Regions from separate parts of the Homo sapiens genome. Here region 2 is linked to region 1. Evidence: promoter capture Hi-C in human tissues and cell types (Jung and others, 2019). All regions are on one chromosome and are shown on one strand. The core of a region is centred on a gene start or on the middle of the fragment in contact, and the rest is flanking DNA. Distances in the headings are between cores, read along the strand shown.

Region 1 (6,268 bases), core at 24-2,523:
AATTCTCTCTTCCGTGGGGAAGGTCAGCATTTTGCTTTATTTCTGCCTTCAACTGATTAGATGAGGCCCAGCCACATCGTAGACGGCAATCAGCTTTACTCAATATACCAATTTAAATGTTAATCTCATCAAAAAACACCCTCACAGAAACACTCAGAATACTATTTGACCAAATATCTGGGCATCCCATGGCCCAGTAAAGTTGACACATAAAATTAACCCTCACAGACACCAAGTGTAGTTCATCATTTTGGAAAATATTCACCTTATAGCAAGAATGGAAACCTCTAAGTAGAGTATTTTATGTGAACCATTCAACCTCAGGAATCATACATTTCACTCACTGATCCCTTGTTCACATTCCAGTGTATAAAACTCTGGTCCCCATTAAGGAGACACTCCAGTCCTCAGGGAAAATCAGACCTGGCACTGTCGTCCATGAGTATGAGACGGGAAGAGCTGTGGTCCAGGATGGAACGGAAGTCATACTGCACATACCAGGTGTTCAGTAAATGCTCCGATCTTCAGGTGCGCGTTGTCTCTCTCTCTCTCTCTCTCGAGTAGACACTTAATTCAACTAACGGGAGGCTGGCCAGTTGTTTCACCACCTATCCTACTTTCCCCAGCTCTTGTGTGGTTCCCAAAGCCCCTAGCAGTAGCCAAAACGGGGGCCCCAACTGCTGTCGCTGTCCCTGGTGCTGACTAAACCCTAAAGCCTCTGCGTTGCGGCCTTGGGGCCATTGGTGGTGCCGAGTTATTCTTTTATTTTCTTTCTGTTCTTTTCTTTTTTTCTTTTCTTCTCGTTGCTGCCCTTGGTGCTGCCCAATTATTCTTTTCTTTTCTTCTCCTCTCCCTCTCTCTCTTTTCTTTCTCTCTCTTTCTTTCTTTTTCTCTTTTTCTTTCTTTCCTCAAGAAAATGCTGCAGATTTAGAGAGTGACTTTGAAGCATAGACTAGACTTCGAGGATGAACATGACATTTTGGCTCTCTGTGTATCCCCATTCACACTGAAGAATCAACAACACTTCCTTGCTGATCAATAGTCCCAGAACTGGTGGCACAGCCAGGACCGACGCTGATGCTTACCTCCCCCTCTCCTGCAGCAGAGACGCCCCCGTCCCTGTGGCCCAGGGAAGTGCCAGGGATCCCTGGGAAGGCGGGAGATGGGGAAGGGGCAGGGTGAGCGAAGAGGAGCAGGCTGCGTCTGCACGCGGGCTGGGAAGCGGGGCTTCCGGGCCGCAGGGTCGCGGGGACGGGTGTGATGCAATCGCGCCACAGCCGCTGCGTCAAGGGGCGGCTCCGGGATGCGGGCACTGCGGTAGAGCCCGTCCTGCCCCCGCCGCCCGCCGCCCGCCGCCCGCCTCCGCTGCTAAACCCGCGGACAACCGCCGGGACGACCACCCAGAGCCACCAGAGCCCCCTGACACCCGCCCCGAGGCACCGGTAACCCACGGCACCCGCCCCGGTGCGTGCCATGAAGTCGGCCGCGAGCTCGCGCGGGGGCGGTGGGGGCGGCCGCGGGGGCGGCGGCTGGGGCAGCTGGGGCGGGGGCCGAGGCGGCGGCGGCGGCGCGGGCAAGGGCGGCGGGGGCGACGGCGGCGGCCAGGGGGGCAAGGGCGGCTTCGGGGCGCGGGCGCGCGGCTTCGGCGGGGGCGGCCGGGGCCGGGGGCGCGGCGGCGGCGACGGCAAGGATCGCGGCGGCGGTGGACAGCGGCGGGGCGGCGTGGCCAAGAGCAAGAGCCGCCGCAGGAAGGGCGCCATGGTGGTGTCGGTGGAGCCGCACCGGCACGAGGGCGTCTTCATCTACCGCGGGGCGGAGGACGCGCTGGTCACGCTGAACATGGTGCCGGGCCAGTCTGTGTACGGCGAGAGGCGCGTCACGGTGACCGAGGGCGGCGTGAAGCAGGAGTACCGCACGTGGAACCCGTTCCGCTCTAAGCTGGCCGCGGCCATCCTGGGCGGGGTGGACCAGATCCACATCAAGCCCAAGTCCAAGGTGCTGTACCTGGGCGCCGCGTCGGGCACCACCGTCTCCCATGTCTCCGACATCATTGGCCCAGACGGCCTGGTCTACGCCGTCGAGTTCTCCCACCGCGCCGGCCGCGATCTGGTCAACGTGGCCAAGAAGCGCACCAACATCATTCCGGTCCTGGAGGACGCGCGGCACCCGCTCAAGTACCGCATGCTCATCGGGATGGTGGACGTGATCTTCGCCGACGTGGCCCAGCCGGACCAGTCCCGCATCGTGGCCCTGAACGCCCACACCTTCCTGCGCAATGGGGGCCACTTTCTCATCTCCATCAAGGCCAACTGCATCGACTCCACCGCATCCGCCGAGGCTGTGTTTGCTTCTGAGGTGAGGAAGTTGCAGCAGGAGAACTTGAAGCCTCAAGAGCAGCTGACCCTGGAGCCCTATGAGCGGGACCACGCTGTGGTGGTCGGGGTCTACCGACCTCTTCCCAAGAGCAGCAGCAAATAGCACCCAGCTCAGGCTCGCCTGCCATCTCCCCAAGGCTGCGTTGTGTTTGCTATTATTTTCTGTGTGTTTTCTTTGTGAGTGTTTTGTTTTGTTGTTTTTCTATTAAACTGCATAAAGAAACGGCACCTATCTGTATGGTGATGCCAGGCTAGGTTTTGCTGCAGTAACAATCAACCCCCAAATCCCAGTGGCCTAAACCGGCTGGTATAAGGGGCCCATCCAGCAGTAGCCTGGGAGCTGTGCTCATTCTAATCACTCAGGTCTCCAACTCCCCAGGGCCCCATTTTCACACATGCTCCCCCCATCCCTAGGGCAGAGGAAAGAGAGCTGCGGAATTGCTAATAAAAGCTTTTAAATGTCCCCTTGGAACTGATGGGGCACTTCTGCTCACATTTGGCCAAGTCACATGACCCAGCCTGACTCGGGAAAAACACTGAATGTTGGTGGACAATAATATAGTCAAACACACCAATCATCTGACTCACAGCCAAAGTCTTAACCACAATAGGTTTTTAGTATTTTACTCTTCAACTAAGCCCTTTTGCATTCACTGTTAAAGTGAATAATAAATAAATGTTAAATTTATTCCTCACACCAGCCCTGAGATGGCTTTGTTAGCACTTGCATATTACATGTGAAGCAACAGGGCTTCTGAAGGTAAACTATTTTGCCCAAACGTACATAGCCAGTAAGGAGGTAGAACTTAAATGCCAGTCTTCGGGGCTCTAAATCCATTGCTGTTTCCTCAGCACCAGGGGGATCTTGTCTCTGGTCCCCAACCCCTATGGCATGTGCACAGGGACACACTTAGAGCAGGGCCCTGTGACCTTATTGTGTTCTTTCGCCCTCCCCTGTCCCCCCCGGGCTACCCCTTTGTTTGGTTTCACAATAGCAAAACAAGATGCGGGGCAGATGTGGGTCTAGCTAGCAGACTGTCTCTACTACAGGGCATAACATACCCAAAGTGGTATCACCAAGTGTCTGCAGAACAGGCAGACAAATTACTCCCAGAAAGTATCTGTCTTTGCAAGGCATGTCCTGCACTTCCCAAGTTGCTGGTCTCAGTACCTCGCAGTCTCTCTCCAAAGCAGCCCAAAGGGAAGGGAGAGTGGGTAATCCGAGGAAAGCTGAGAATGCCCCAAAGGCCCAGTAAATCCCTCCAAGCCAGACTTTTCATTCATTCATGCATGCATGCATACACACTCCCAACTGCCAAAAAGACCCACATCAACATTTAGTCTTTGAATGATTGCTCACTAATGTATCATTTGGAGGGTGGATTTGCCTTTCTAAAGATGTGCTTGGGCAGCAATTGTGGTTAGTCTGCTTTTTCTGAGGGCATACTTCTTGAACAACAACAAAGGATAAATCAGACTTTTTATTTTTGTTTTATTTTATTTATTTTATTTGAGACAGGTCTTGCTCTGTCGCCAAGGCTGGAATGCAGTGGCGCAATCATGGCTCACTGCAGCCTTGAACTCCTAGGCTTAAGTGATCTTCCTGCCTCAGCCTACCACACCTGGCTAATTTAAAAAAAAAATGTTTGTGGAGAAACAGTGTCTCGCTTTGTTGCCGAGGCTGGTCTTGAACTCCTTGCTTCAAGAAATCCTCCTGCCTCAGACTCCCACACTGGGATTAGAGGCGTGAGCTATGGCACCTGGTCCAAATCAGACTTTTGAAAAGGCTGCCACTCTTTCACCACTCCCCCATCCTACGCCACCCCAAAATTCAGAAAGGGAATTACAGTTCAGATGTATCAGCAAGACTGACTCAGGAAGAAGAGAGTGAATGCCGTACATGTCTATTTCCATAAACAATGGAAATCTTCATTACAACCCTGCAAAGCCAGGATCACTTTTCCTATTTAGCATATAAGAACACTGCAGTTCAGAGATGAAAGTGCCTGGTTTAAGATCCCCCAGAAAGGCTCACAGCCAGAAATCACAGCTTTGTTAGTCTGACTCCAAAACCTATGTCATTTTCACTGAAGTCTGTGCTGGTTCTGTTGCCTTGAAAAGCCCTCTCTCCAATCCTAGGCTAATTTATTAGTTGCTGTGATGAAGCCCTGAGGCTGGGGTGGACTCCCTGGGAACAGGAACTGTTTCCTCACTAGGGGAAGACAGAAGCAGCTGGGTACTCAGGAGGGAGGGGCTCTGCAGCAGCTGAGGCCCATGACCCAGCCCCTCCTCAGAGCCAGATGGGCTCCATAAAGGAGCTCTTGATTGCTCCTTAAAGGTTTTTCCCCCCAGCATGGGGGATGAAGCAGGGGAAACTCTACCTCCTTCCTTGGCATGGGAACTCCCATTCCCTGCCCCTCCTGCCGCAAGTGAAATTTAAAGTCATGTCTGAAGCTTCTCAAAGAGGGAACCATTCATGAGGAAATGGCAACAAAACAATCTCCTGAAGAATTTCCCTGCATTGCAGATGAGTTCCTGAGCCAATGGAATGACATGGTGAGTACCAGGAAAAATATAGGAATAAGGGCCAAGGGAATACAGGAAGGGAGCTGGAACCTGGTTTTAGAGGATGATGGCAGGGAAAAGAATGGGACTATAGTCTGGGCACAGTGGCTCATGCCTGTGATCCCAGCACTTTGGGAGGCCAAGGCACATGGATAACTTGAGTCCTTGAGTCGAGACTAGCCTGGTCAACATATGAAACCCCATCTCTACTAAAAATACAAAAAATAGCTGGTGGCGGGCAACTGTAATCCTAACTTCTTGGGAGGCCGAGGCAGAAGAATCGTTTGAACCTGGGAGGTGGAGGTTCCAGTGAGCTGAGATCATGTCACTGCGAGACTCTGTCTAAAAAAAAAAAAAAAAATTATCGGACTGTAACTCCAGTGGGCCTTGGGTCCCAAGAAACCTAGAAGTAGCAGTGACCCTGGTTAACAGACCTGCTCAGAGCCAGGAATGCTTCAGTGACTATCAGCTTGGGTTCCAAGAAGCCTTTACATTTGGGTCTCTAGGTATATTAGTCTTCTCAGGCTGTTGTAACAAAATACTACATGCTAGGTGGCTTAAACAACAGATACTCATTTTCTCACTATTCTGGATGGAGGCTAGAAGTCCAATATCAAGGTGCTGGAATTCAGTTTCTGGTGAGGACTCTCTTCCTGGCTTGTAATCGGCCACCTTCTTGCTGTGTCATATATGTGGCCTTTCCTCTGTTCACACACAGTGAGAAAGAGAGAGCTCTTTGGTGTTTCTTCCCCTGTTTAGAAGGATACCAATCCTGCTGGATTAGGATCCTACTCTTAGGACCTCTTTTAACCTTAATTACCTCCTTAGGGCCCTATCCCCAAATATAGTAACACTGGGGATTGGGGCTTCAATTTGTGAATTTTCTGGGACACAATTCGGTGCATAACCCTAGGGTTAGATGAGAATGTTCAGCTAAAATGACTGTCTTACTGGATTGTGAGCTTTGGCTGAGGAGACCAGTGTTTAATGTGAAAATACCTGCCAACAGCCTGGCACTAAGTGCTCTGCCTGTTTTTTTCCCCCCACCTCTTACTGTCAATAGAGAATAATAAGGTGGCTGAGAATTAAGTTTAAGACCGGGCGTGGTGGCTCACCCCTGTAATCCTACAACTTTGGGAGGCTGAAACGGGCAGATTGTCTGCGCTCAGGAGTTCAAGACCAGCCTGGGCAACACAATAAAACCCCATCTCTACTAAAATAGAAAAGAAATTAGCTGGGCATGGCGGCGTGCACCTGTAGTCCCAGCTACTTGGGAGGCTGAGGCAGGAGAATTGCTTGAACCTAGGAGGCAGAGGTTGCAATGAGCC
Region 2 (6,518 bases), core at 2,336-4,835, 140 kb after region 1:
TACTAAATAAATCTGCTATTATAATAATGTTTGAAACAGGCTGAGCATAGTGGCTCACACCTGTAATCCCAGCATTTTGGGAGACTGAGGCAGGAAGATGGCTTGAGCCTAGGAGGTTGAGGCTGCGGTGAGCTATGATCGAACCACTCTACTCCAGCCTGGGTGACAAAGCAAGACCTTGTCTCTAATGACAACAAAAAACAAAGCCATCATAAGGCACAGTACCTGGAACATAATGGAGATTTACATGCACATTTTTAGATAAATTCCTCAGCTATATCCCTCTCTCCCTTCTCTTCATCCCCTCCATCCCTTCCTTCTTTCCTTCCTTCCTTCTTCCAGTTGCCTCGTTTTCCTCCATCTTCCTTTCTTTTCTTTCTCCCTTCATTATTCCCTGCGTCTTTGGCCCACCATTGGTACTCACAGATCAACTAGGCTCCTCTAGGGAACCTGAGGGCTGAAAGGTCCAATGAATTCCAAACTCTTCTCCCTGAAACTCCTACAGTGGAAGCTCCTGGGGGAAGGAGGGATGGATGATAAGAGCCAGGGAGTTGGTGTGAACAGCTGAGCCCTGGAAGATATGTGGCTAACCTGATGGGGTGGAAGGGGGCAAATGGGAGTGAGGGAGGGAGAGACATGGAAAGAAACAGGGGCAGGGAAGTCCCCTTCAGGAATGGAGGCAGAGGCTGGATAGGCTGCCCTTGGTCACTTTCCCTAGATGCATAAGCCCTGGTCTCCAGAATCTTTCCAGATACTGCGGAGGGAGAAGGAGTGAGCAAGGCAGAACAAGAGCAGGAAAAAACATCATATTATTTCCTTTTCCGGCAGGGCTGCTCTGATGGATTTAAGCCGCCTGAATCACCTGTGCTCACCCATTCTAGAGGAAGAATCTCAAGCTTTGGGTCTGGACTTCTGGTCTGGCTCCTCCACTTATCTGGTGTGTGGCTTAAGGCAAGTTCCAGAGCCTGTGAGGGCCTAAACTTCCTTCTTAGTGAACCCAGCTCTACTCCCTTATCCTTCCCAGGGAGGCAGGGGTTGCATAGATAAAATAAGGTAAAGTTTGGATATGCATTGGAAAGTGTCACAGATGGGCAAGGAGTCTCTATCGTCATGCTGGTGACCTGGAGGATCAGGTGGCAGAGGCCTGTCTTACAACAAGAGCCTCCAAGAACCTTCCAGAGTTGGACATCTAGCGCTGTGGGCAGACTTGACTTGGCTCCCAGCCTTCCGCTTCCAAGAAGGGCTGACTACCTTCTCTACTGGGATACATTCCAATGAAAAATTACCTGGAAGGAGGAGAGAGGGCCAGTGCATGGGTCCTGAGGAGACACCATGATATTCTCTTCCCTCGCCTCCTCTAGGAAGACCCCTCTCCTGGGGAGGAGCAGGAAAAATAGCAGCTGTTTTAAAATTTGGTAAGACAGTTCCAAATGACACCTGTAGCAGACTTCAATAGTCAGTCCTCGATTGGAAGCCAGGGCCAGCCAGGAAGGAGAAGAGGGGTCCCCCAGTGGGTTCAGATACGGAAGCCAGGGCCACCCAGGAAGGAGAAGAGGGGTCCCCCAGTGGGTTCAGATACCCTGAAGGGGGGTCTGGGACAGACAGGGACAGCAATATTTTTGAGTGGCAGTGAGACTGAGAAGGCCAGGGCTCAGCAGCTTTTCCTGGAAGAACTGGGCATTTTGGGCACTGACATCCAGGACTCCGAAAAGCTGGGTAATTTTAGGGGAGGAAAAATAAAAGGGAGTTAAAAAACAAGAAACAAAGGTCTTTTCCTTCTCTCTCTTCCTCTTATTCCTTTTTCTGATCTCAATGAGCAGCTCTTGGTCTACTGCCGACATAATACCGTTTCATAAACATGAAAACATCTTCCTCCTTCCTCAGACAGGCTATCATTCTTTATTCTTATCCTTTTGTTTTAAAGCATTTTTATTAGTCTATTTTTTTCTTAAATTTTTAAACAGCTATTTTTAAAAACACAACAAATACACAACACAAAACTTGGTAAAAATAACTCACTATATGGTACATATACGCAGATGGTGTAATATATTTATATAATAAAAGATGAAAATAGTCACTTTCCATAATAAAAATAAGTTCTATTTTTTGTTTATTTTACAATATACTTAATATTCTCTTCTTCTTTACCTTCCTCTCCAGCTTCATTTCCTTCATGCTGAATCACCAGGGGGTCCCACATGGCTGTCCCAACTCCATCAAGCTGGAGTCCGAGAGGTGGCAGGCAGGCGGGCAGGGGCTTAGGAACACGCGAGGCAGCCGCACTCTAAGTGTCTCTCCACCTCTTCTACAAACGAGGAGCCGTCCGTGCACTGGAAGACGTATTTCCGCCGCTTGCTGCGGGTGGGCTGGCAGCACTGGGGCCCACAGCCCCCACGACATTCCATGATGGGCACCTTGGAGGCTGTGGCACATGATGCATAACCTTTCTGGCGGCGGATCACCTCTCGGACTACTTGTCCCAGGCACGGATTCTCTGCAGAGGGCATAGAAGTCAGGGCATTGGTGGTCTAGGTGGCCAGCAGGACCATGAGCAGTTCCCAGGTAGGCTGCTTTGAAATACTTGTGCTCTGAAGACTGTAAGAATTTATTCACTCATCCATCTGCCTACCCTCCCCTCCATCCACCCATCTATTTTACAAACAGGTGCCTTTCCTGTACCAGGCTCTCTGACAGGCTTACACCTAAGCCGTGAGGATATAATGATGACAAAAGCAGGCTTGGTCCCTTCCTTCAAGAAACCTAAAGTCAAAACTAAAACTAGATGACGCAAACTGATAGACTGTGGGCCAAATCCTGACCCCAGACCAATTTGGATCACCCTACATGTGCCTAAAAATTAATTAAATGTCAACATTCAAAAAGCAGGAGATTTCACCTGAAAATCTGGATTTCTGCCTTCCTTGAAAACAAGGAGGTCTGGCAGAGCTGAGCCTGCAACCCTGCACTGCAGTGATGGCTGAAGCTGAGTGCTTTAGATGGGGCAGGCAATCTCCAGTTTGCCCCAGTCACTACCACTCCCAATAGTCTGTCTCTCTTGGCCTAGAGTCTAGATACTATTTAAGTGAATATATTTAATAAAGAAACTGAGGTAGATGCTATAAAGAAAGGGAAGATGTTCATACAAGAACATACAGTATATGTTTTTGTATGCTATAAGACATTTGTATTCAAAAGGCATTTGACCTGGCCCAGGGGCCAGGGAGGCTTCTCTGGGAAATGAGCTGGAGTTGATATCTGAATAAGAAGCAGGTGTTGCGATGAGCTTTTCCAGAAGGCCTAGAAATAACTGCAGGCTGGGAAAGGGCACCCCTGTATCTGCTTAAACACTCTGGACCCTGACCCAGCTTTTCATTTCCACCCCTCTACTGTCCTCACTACAGTGGGAGAATGTCTGCAGCAAGGCACTTGAGGAAGGGAGCCATGACCCTTGACCCTTGACAAGCAAGTCACAGTTTCCGTGTCTGCAAAGTGGTAACACATTTACCTGTCCTTCCAGCAACTCCCAGGCTGTTACGGGCACCAGAGGCGATTGTGAAGGAGAAAGGGCTTTATGCATTTTAAAGCTTCAGGTGTTGTTAAAAGTCTTTAAAATTATGAGATTGTTAAAAGGATTAGAAAGAGGTTAATGACAATGTGTGCATGTGCATGTGTATAACATGGGGAGAGACAGGGAGTGCAGATGGGGCAACATGCTAATGACTGGGGTGAAGGGATTAAGCTGTTTATACTGTCCTGACAGTTTTTCTGTAAGTCTGAAATTATTTCAGAATAAGCTATTTAATAACATTTTAAAAATGAGTTTTGGTTAAGAATAGTATTTCGTGTAGGTATAAAATGTGGAAAAGTCCTCAAGGCACGGGGTGGACTGCCTGGGATCCTGGTGGCAGGGAGCAAGACTTCTCAGTGTCCATGCAGGAGAAAGATCCCCCAAGGTAAGACAACCATTTTAATATTAATATAATTTCCTTTGTTTAGGTCAGACCAAAGAACTGGCTTCTGCTGACCCAGTAAGGGCAAGAGGGTTGGATGGAGGCTGTGGAGCAATGCCATCAGCTTGGATACATATGCGAATCATTGCAAAATGCAGGTTCTGACTCAAAAGGGCTGGGGTGGGGCCTGGGAGCCCCAGGTGACTCCCAGGTGATGTCAGTGGTGCTGGTCAATGTCAGGGGGCCACTCTGAGTGGCTAGGGTTTCATTAGTTTTGAAGGCATGGCATCTCAAGGGCCAACAGCTGGAAAAGAGGAGAAAAGAACCATCCAGACTGCTCATGTGTTCTCCCTGCAGAGGTCCACTGAGGACCATTTTCTACACTTGTTTCATCTTTAAAAAGTCCATGCTTTAGAATCTTAACTTTGGCAGTATGAGTTATCTGCACTTTTGTCTTTTCTTGGAGACAGGGTCTGTCTCTGTCACCTGGGCTGGAGTGCAGTGGTGCATTCATTGCAGCTTCAAGCTCCTGAGCTCATGCAATCCTTGCACCTCGGCCTCCCAAAATGCTAGGATTCCAGGTGTGAGCCACCACTCCTGGCCCTATCTAGATGAGGAAGTGAACCACAAGTATGCTGCTCAATGTCATGCAGAGTTGAGACAGGCTCTCACTCTGTCACCCAGGTTGATCTTGGCTGACTGTAACCTCCGCCTCCTGGGTTCAAATGATTCTCTTGCCTCGCCTCCAGCATAGCTGGGATTACAGGCGACCGCCATGATGCCCAGCTAATTTTTGTATTTTTAGTAGAGACAGGGTTTCACCATGTTGGCCAGGATAGTCAAGGTCATGCAGATTCTAAATGACAGTTTGGCCTTCATCGTGACAATGTTGCTTCTGACTTTACATCTCAACATCTCACGTACTCCTCCCAACAACCCTATAAAGAAGCACAGTAGCTAGCCTCCAAGATTGCCCCCAGTGACTACCACCTTCTGGTATTGATGCCCTTTATGTGGTCCCCTCCCTCACTGAATGTACCTGACTGATGTAACCAATGCAATGTGGTGGAAATGATGGTGTGAGTGACTTCCAATTGTAGGTCATACAAGACAAGTGGCTTACTCTCTTCTGGACCATTCACTCTGGGACATGCCAGCTGCCCTGGCGCAAGGACCCTCAAAGAGCCTGTGTAGTGACTCATGCAGGGCAGAACTGGGACCTCCCGCCAACACCCAGCGCCATGGGAGTGCAGCACATTGGAAGCATATCCTGCTGCCTTGGGTTAGCCTACAGAGAACTGCAGCCATGGCTGTGTAGAATGCAACCCTGAGAGATCCCAGCTACGCTCTTTCTGAATTCCCAACCCACAGGAACAATGTAGGCTAAAAAAAATGTTTTTTGTGGTTTTGAACTGCTATGGTTTGGGGCTAAGTTGTTATGCAGCACTAGATAACTGATACAGGAAGGTATAGTATTGCCTCCGTTTTCAAGTTGAGGGAATTGAGGCTCAGAAAGTGACTGAACCAAGGTCATGCAGCCTTTAAGTGGCACAGCCAGAACTGGAACTGAGGTGATCTGGATGTGAAGTCCAACTCTGACCCCCACTTCCTCCCTCCCACAGGCACAGTAGACCCACCTTGTTGGCAGTGCTCGCCGCTAAAGCCGGGCTGGCACAGGCAGTAGGGCTCCCCTTGGTCTGAGATGTGGCACTGCCCATGGTGACACTTGAAGGCTGAGCAGGCATTGGCAGAGTCATTCTTGTTGTCACACAAGTCCCCTCCATAGCCCTCGGCACACTTGCACATGTATGAGGTCCCAGTTGCCACACATTTTCCATGGTGGCATCTAGGGGCAGAGAGGAGGATGAGAAGGGAACTGGATCAGAGTTGGTGCTGCTGGGGACTCCCTCTGTCCACCCAGCCAGGGACCAGGGGACCCGGAGCTGAGTACAGTCCAATAGCTTTCTCTGTTTCCTAGGCTGAGCATCTCTTTTCTTAACCACCTTGGTTCCCCTGGCCAACCAGCCAGAAGCCTGCGAGTGTCACCCAGTGTCCACTGTGAGCTGTGACCACAGCAGAGGCTGGCTTGCTGATTTACACACACACCTCATGCAGCCAAGTAGCAAACAACTGCTTGAAAGAATCTAGCCATTCTCTAAACATTTTAATTGCTTTACCATCTTAAATAAGAATTACTACCACCCCACTACTACCAGCAGGTACCACTGGCTATGTACCAGGAATTGTGTTAAGTGCTTTACACCCAGTATTGCTCTGAATTTCCATCATAACCTCTTGTCTGCTGCTCCTATGCAGTACATTTCACCCATGGAAAAAAATGAAGGTAAAGCCTATATTCTGAATCATGATGCACCACTGCCCCTATTGAGATGACATGCAGAGCCAGGATCCGTATTATAGAGTCAAACACACACACACATATGCTCAAGAGCAACACAAGAAGCTCAAACCCTGTATAGCTGTCCCTTATTCCTGATCCAAAAAATCATTTCCTGACTGGTTTAGCCAACCACATTTCCAGTGTTGGCTCTGGTGTTAGTTTTG

Evidence for each region. The method cuts DNA at HindIII sites, captures the fragments that hold promoters and counts their contacts. A contact is called where the count stands out against the background at its distance.
Region 2: a contact is called between a fragment that was not itself captured here and the fragment with the promoter of FBLL1 in region 1, in 2 of the 25 tissues and cell types used here (H1 embryonic stem cells and spleen).

The regions. Positions count from the first base shown.
Region 1 is chr5:168,528,032-168,534,299 of GRCh38, forward strand. FBLL1 (fibrillarin like 1) reads left to right here and starts at 1,274. Exons shown (of 1, transcript NM_001355274.2): 1 at 1,274-2,603. The coding sequence starts at 1,474. The coding sequence ends at 2,478. RefSeq lists a silencer at 433-727 and enhancers at 1,581-2,122, 2,978-3,147. The HindIII fragment of the contact is 8,115 bases long and covers 1-3,827 here.
Region 2 is chr5:168,664,193-168,670,710 of GRCh38, forward strand. SLIT3 (slit guidance ligand 3) reads right to left here. Exons shown (of 36, transcript NM_003062.4): 35 at 5,591-5,799; 36 at 1-2,497. The coding sequence ends at 2,262. Among named protein-coding and RNA genes, the nearest start is that of SLIT3-AS2, 39 kb to the right of the region's middle. The HindIII fragment of the contact is 8,529 bases long and covers 1-6,518 here.